Regions from separate parts of the Homo sapiens genome. Here region 2 is linked to region 1. The links are contacts of gene promoters, found by promoter capture Hi-C in blood cells and fetal thymus (Javierre and others, 2016). All regions are on one chromosome and are shown on one strand. The core of a region is centred on a gene start or on the middle of the fragment in contact, and the rest is flanking DNA. Distances in the headings are between cores, read along the strand shown. Region 1 holds the start of VPS13D (vacuolar protein sorting 13 homolog D). Region 2 overlaps TNFRSF8 (TNF receptor superfamily member 8).

Evidence for each region. Contacts are between HindIII fragments. The CHiCAGO score rates a contact against its expected background, and 5 or more counts as called.
Region 2: a fragment that was not itself captured here is called in contact with the fragment with the promoter of VPS13D in region 1 in 2 of 17 cell types (neutrophils and M1 macrophages); the score reaches 5.7 in neutrophils.

Annotation. Positions count from the first base shown.
Region 1 is chr1:12,228,471-12,231,610 of GRCh38, reverse strand. It overlaps VPS13D (vacuolar protein sorting 13 homolog D), which reads right to left and starts at 1,581. Exons shown (of 70, transcript NM_015378.4): 1 at 1,491-1,581. RefSeq lists silencers at 1,522-1,690, 1,227-1,756 and an enhancer at 902-1,832. The HindIII fragment of the contact is 6,412 bases long and covers 1-3,140 here.
Region 2 is chr1:12,140,689-12,143,767 of GRCh38, reverse strand. It overlaps TNFRSF8 (TNF receptor superfamily member 8), which reads right to left. Exons shown (of 15, transcript NM_001243.5): 15 at 1-1,481. The coding sequence ends at 1,237. Among named protein-coding and RNA genes, the nearest start is that of MIR7846, 25 kb to the left of the region's middle. The HindIII fragment of the contact is 4,003 bases long and covers 1-3,079 here.

The sequences.
Region 1 (3,140 bases), core at 332-2,831:
AGGTCAGAGTACTCTTTATTTTTGTAGTTATTGCCACTAATTTCGGCCCTAAATGCCAACTCTGAGTGCCAATTACCAATTATCTCCAAATCAAGGGAAACAACTGTCAGTTTGTAAACAAGTTCAGGCCCTACCCTACTTGCCCTAAACGGAAAAGAATGCAAAGCACAGATTTTAAAAGCATGAGTGATTAGCATTGTGAGGCAACCTGGTCAGTAACATTGAGGCCCAAACCAGAAAGCACCCATTATTTGCTCTGCTAAGCATCTAGACCGTGCTTGAGGCCACTTCAAGGATTCCCTGAAGGAATTCAGTGTCAGCAAGGGCCGCCAGACTGGCCAGAGTCCCAAAGTGTTTACACTCCGGTCCATCAGGACTTCTAGGCAGCTGCCTGGCACTGGCACTAACCCCCACCTGGGCTCCCCTACCCAGTGGGGCGGGTGACAGTAGGGATCAGTGCTGAGCCCACGGGCGGGCAGACAGCCGGGCATGACCTTGAGCCAGGCCCCTCCCCTGAGGAGCGGCCAGACCGGGAATAGGAAGGACTGGCAACCGGACCTGGGCGTCCCTCCCCGAGGCGGCCAGGGCTGAACGCTGCCGGCGCCAGGGAGCTCCAAAACCGGGGCGGGGACGGCTGTGCGACCGGTGGCCCCACAGGAACGGCACTGCCCGGAAGGCGACGCTCCCACAACCCTCCCGCCCCCAGCTCTCGGAACCCTCAGCCCCCTCCAGGGGACAGAGACCCCACCACCCAAGTAAAACCTGGAGGGAACGGCGCCGGGATCCCATACCTAGGAGGAGTGGCTGGGCCAGGGCGTGACCCTGGGGGGTAAAAGGTAAAGAGAGGTTTTAGGCCTGATGTCTGGCATCCCACACCTAGGAGGAGTGGCTGGGCCAGGGCGTGACCCTGGGGGGCAAAAGGTAAAGAGAGGTTTTAGGCCTGATGTCTCCACGCGAGAGTGTGACCTCGGGTGGCTGATTAAGGGAGGTGGCTAAGGCATTCTAGAGAACTGACACCCCACTCTTCGGCGTAATGTGGGGGGCTCGCACACTGGGGTCCTGCATTGAGACCAAGGCTCAGGCGGACAGGCGCGGACTGACACCCCCCAATTCCAGGGCGCCAGGCTGCTGGGACCCCGGAAAGTGTGCCGGGGTCCAGCGGGGGCTCGGGCTCCCCAGGACACGGACGTCGGGGTTCCCAGAGGTTCAGCCAGCCCCGAGCCTGTGCTTGGGGAGCTCGCGGGGACTCGGACGCAGGGGTCCCCGGAGGTGGCGGGCTTGGGGCCCGGGGGGAGCAGACGCCCAGGGTTACCCCGAGGGGCTCAGACCGAGGCCGGACGACGGGGCCCCCAGGCTCCTAGCATCGCTCTCCCCAGGGTGGGCCCGGGCCCCCATGTCCAGGCGGAGCCCTAGCGGCGGCCCGCGGGTCCGCGCCGGCCCTGCAGTTCCCGACCCTGGCCCCGCCCGGCACGGAGCCGCTCGGCCCCTACCTGTCGGTGTCCCGGGCCGCCCGCCCCAGCCCGGCGCTGCGCGGCGTTTCCTCCCCGCCGCTCCTCAATGGCGCAGGCCCGCGGCGCTCAGGCCGGCCCCGACCCGACCAATCGAGCGGCCGACGCGCCGGTGCCTGGCCAGCCGAGCGCCGAGTTATCGAGGAGGCGCCCCCTGGCGCCGGCGGCCGCTCCTGCAGTGGTGCGGGCCCCTCCAGGGTTCGCGGACACTGGGGCTTATTTTATAGGTGGGGAAATTGAGTCCCAGGGGAGGGCAGGGCCACAAATGACTCTGGTTCAGACAGCATGGGAACCCAGGATTCTTCCCACCTACAACCACCCTGCCTTCCATCCAAGCGAAAGGTGCGATTGGCCGTCCGTCTGGCCCACTCACCCACAGTCCGTTCCCCACTTCGCAGCCACAGGGGCCTGTTAATTCAGACCCTGCCCTTCCCTGCTTAAAACGGCGTCCCCACCGTACTTCAGTTAAAACCCACCTCCTTACAGAGCTGCCACCAAGGTCCCACTGGATCTGGTCCCTTCCCATTTCAGCCACTTTTTCCCCGGCCGACTCTGCCTCAGCATCCTTCAGTTTCTGCCCCAGGAACTGTACCTTTGCCGTTGTCTCTACCTAGGACCCTTCTCCTCAGACCAATAGAAACACAATGCCAGCCACATAGGCAATCCACATTTACTAGCTAGTACATTTTTTTTAAACGAAAAAGAAGAAAATGAACTTCATTTTAATATATTTAATCCAATATGTTCAAAATATGATCATCTCAACATGTCGCCAAAAGAAAAAATTACTAATACAATATGTTAACTTTTTTATAGTAAGTTTTTGAAATTCGGGTATATTTTACATTTACTGCGCATCTCAGTACAAACTAGCCAGAATTCCAGTGCTCAATACCCTCTTGTGGCCAATCCAGAGCTACAGAATAGCTCTGGATATTCGTATAGCTGACTCCCTCTGGCTTCAAATATTCCACTCAGAGAGGACTTGTGCCTATCTACGGTTCCATTATGAGCTGGGCACAGTGGCTCATGCCTGTAATCCCAGCACTTCAGGAGGCTGAGGCGGGCGGATCACTGAAGTCAGGAGTTTGAGACCAGCCTGGCCAACATAGTGAAACCCCATCTCTACTAAAACTACAAAAATTAGCCGGGCGTGGTAGTGCACACCTGTAGTCCCAGCTACTGGGGAAGCTGAGGCAGGAGAATCACTTGAACCCGGGAGGCGGAGGTTGCAGTCAGCCGAGATCACCCCTCTGCACTCCAGACAGAGTGAGACTCCCTCTCAAAAATGAAAATAAAAATAAAGTTCCATTATCCATTACCCTGTTGTATTTTATTCATGGAACCTAATACTCCCTGAGATTATCTTGTTTGTTTATACATATGTTGTTCTTTCCCCAGTACCTTGAAAACAGAGATTTTATCCCTTTCACAGTGTTTCTTCAACACCTAGACATTGCCTAGCACAGAAAAGACTCAATGAGTGTGTATGAATGAACAGCTGAACACTTCCTCCTTGCATTATCACAAGAAGGGCAAGAGGGAGACCTCAGGCTCATATAAATTAGAAGATGCAGGAAGCAGAACGGCAAGGTTACAATCATGTATTTACCATAATAATTACCAACCCTC
Region 2 (3,079 bases), core at 556-3,055, 88 kb after region 1:
CTCCAAGACTCATCCTTATCCATCACTCATTTGCATACACGTCTGAAGGCCCTAGGGAGTCAGCTGGCCAGCCGACCGGAAGTCAGGGCCACTACTCCTTAGCGTGAAATGTGAAAAACCCAAAATCCTGATGAAACCTCCAAACGGTCTTGTTTCCTATGGTCCAGAGTAAAGCAGATGCCTGGGTGAGGCCGTGGTGCCTCTCGACATCCACACCCCAAAGCGTGCAGAGCCGGAACCAGGTGGTGGGGTCGGTGCTAGTGGATTTGCAAGCAGGGCAGACCTAAGGAAGATGCTTCTTCATTTCCCAGGACAGAGTGGGTGGGGCCCACAGAGAGCGGTCAAGGACTCCAGGCAGGGCCCGAAGTTCCCCATGTTCACATGGGGAGGAAGTCCCTGGGCAAAGTAAAGCAGGTTCTCTGGGTTGGTGAGGGGCGGTCTGCAGCTGCTGAGGGCTGCAGACATCTGGGACCCGAGGCGCCTGCTGTGGCGGGGATTGGTGGGGACATTCTGAGATGAGTGACTTGATCCTGGGCCCTAGGCCCTGGGCCCACCGAGGGGGCTACAGGACAGGGAAGGTGGGCAGCACCAGGAGGGTCCCACAGTCCAGGCAGGGGCCCTCACACCAGTGCAGAGTACAGTGTGGCCGCTGCAGCAGAGACAGTGCCAGCTGACGACGCCCCATCCCTCGACTTCCCTTTTGACTCTGGAGAAACAACCACAGGCACTGGCTCCATGCCCACTGGGGGCCACATTTACAGTAACTGGGGGCATGCCGGAAGGGCCCAATGGGTGTCACCTCTGAGGTCCAGGGAGAGAGGAGAGTAGGGTTACAGGGGCCCCGGGAGCTGGCCTCACGACCTCTCCCTCGCTGGGCTGTGGGCCTGGTGGTTAAGGTCTGATGCCCAGGGCTCTGGGACCAATGCTGTTCTCGGCAGTGCCCATCCTGCCATCTGTTTGCTGCCTCAACCAACATCACTGCTGGGATCCAGTCCCCTTGGACTGTCTCTTCTGTACAAGCCCCGGATCCCCTAGGCTCTGGGTCAGGGGACAGCTAAGTTGGGGATGCAAGCAGAGACCACCAGACCCCTGCAGTGACCGGCCGGTCCACCACTAGATGCTGGAGCCTCAGTTCAGGCCAGATGGGCCTCTGCCCCCAACCTCGGTGCCAACAGTGCCATCCTGGCCTCCCAGAGGCCACCCTGCTGCCCTCCTAGCCCCAGCCCAGCCCAGGCCTCACTTTCCAGAGGCAGCTGTGGGCAAGGGGTCTTCTTTCCCTTCCTCTTCCACTGAGAGCATGACATCGCTGCAGCTGCCCAGAGGCGGTTCTGTCTCCTGCTCGGGGTAGTGGGGGGTATGGTCCGCCTCCAGCTCCTCCTCCAACTCGGGCTCTGCTGGCCCCGCCAGGCCCCGGCCCTCCGGCAGCTCAGCCTTCACGGTCCCCACGATCACGGTGTCAGCCTTCATGATGTAGATTTTCTCTGCAAGGCAAAAGGATGGGTGAGCGAGGGAGGCCAGAGCACCAGCCAGGATGGGAGCAAAGAGGCAGAGAAGGGCCGAGGCCCAGTGCTGGTACACCTGCCGGGTGGCTTCAGGCTGATGGCACAGCCTCTCTGATGTACCTTACAGGCATCCTGGGGGCTCAGAGGAAATAGAACAGCTAGGAGCTGGGCCTTGAGGAGTTAAGAACCAGCCCACTTGTACTTAGGATTTTCTCAGCACATCTCTGCGGATGGGTAGGGAAGAAGAGGACAGGGTGGGACAGAAAGCAAACTGTGGACAAAAACAGGCAAAGCCGTGGGTAACCAGAGCACGAGCAGAAACAGCAGAGCTGAGCAGTTTCCACACCCCCACTCCTGGGTCCCCAGCCCTCCTGCAAGGCGGACCCCATCAAGATTCCCATTTACAGGTAAGAATCTGAAGCCTGGAGAGGTTAAATGACCTGCCCAAGGTCGCCACGTAGTTAGGAGAAATCCCCCAAAAAAAAACCACCCACTCCGCCTGGTGGCCCTTTCTGCTCCTATCTGTGTGCCTGCAGCCAAAACCCGGGGTGACCAACTTGTCCAGCTTGCCCGGGAACATTCCTGGTTCTACTACTGCAAGTCCCGTGTCCTGGGAGTCCCCTCGGTCCGGGCAAACTCAGCCAGCCTGTCACATCCTGCAGAAAACCCGGCCCCCTCAATAGGTCTCGGCAGCCCATGATTGAGACAGCCTGGCTCAGGCCGTGAATTTCGGGGCTTACTGCTCACAGCCGGTCTCCTGCCTGCAGCGTGCATGGCTGTGCTGTGAGCACATGGTGGGAGCTTGGACGGAGGGCCGGTCCTCGCCACAGTCTGATGTGGGGGCTTCTGGTGTGGCCTTCTGATAGAGGGGACATGGGGGCTCAGGTTCAGTGGCCCGAGGAGCTGGGGAGTGGGGAAGCCTGGCCTCCGCCCAGCTGATGGTGTCTGGCTCAGGGTGGGCTGGCTCCCAGCTGTTCTGCGCTGGACTCTGGAGGCCAGAATGGGGAAGCTCAAGAGGGAACTTGAGAGCTGGGGTGGGGTGGGGGTGCAGGGACCCCTGCCTTTCTGGGTAATGCAGTTATACCCCTCGGATTCAGGAACCCCAAAAAGGTTCTCGAGTCCCCCACACCCTCAACCCTATTGCATGACGCTGGTTCTTCTATTCTGGTTTTGAACACCCCCAGGAAAGAGAGAAGTGCGCCAAACGGCAGCAAGAGGAGAAGGCCCAGAGTGCGGGACAGGCTATGGGCTGGGCGCCCCCACAGACCCCAAAACAGAGCAGGGCCTCAGCACTCCCCACACCTCCATCAGGCTTGTGGGCTCCCAGCCCTAGGAGCCCTATAGAGGGCTGGGCAAAAGATGGGGGCCGGGGGTGGTGAGAGAGGAGACCCCAGGAGGGGAGAGAAGGCCCAGAGGGGGATGGGCAGAGAAGATGAGAGGCGGGTGGGGTCAGGTGGGAGGGAAGTGAGGGTGGGGGTGCTGGATTAGGGAGAAGGAGCCACAGCTGGGGACAGGCTGGTCCCCTCACATTCCTCAGGGAAATGGGCAGGAGTCCCCAGGAAATCTGGAATTAACTG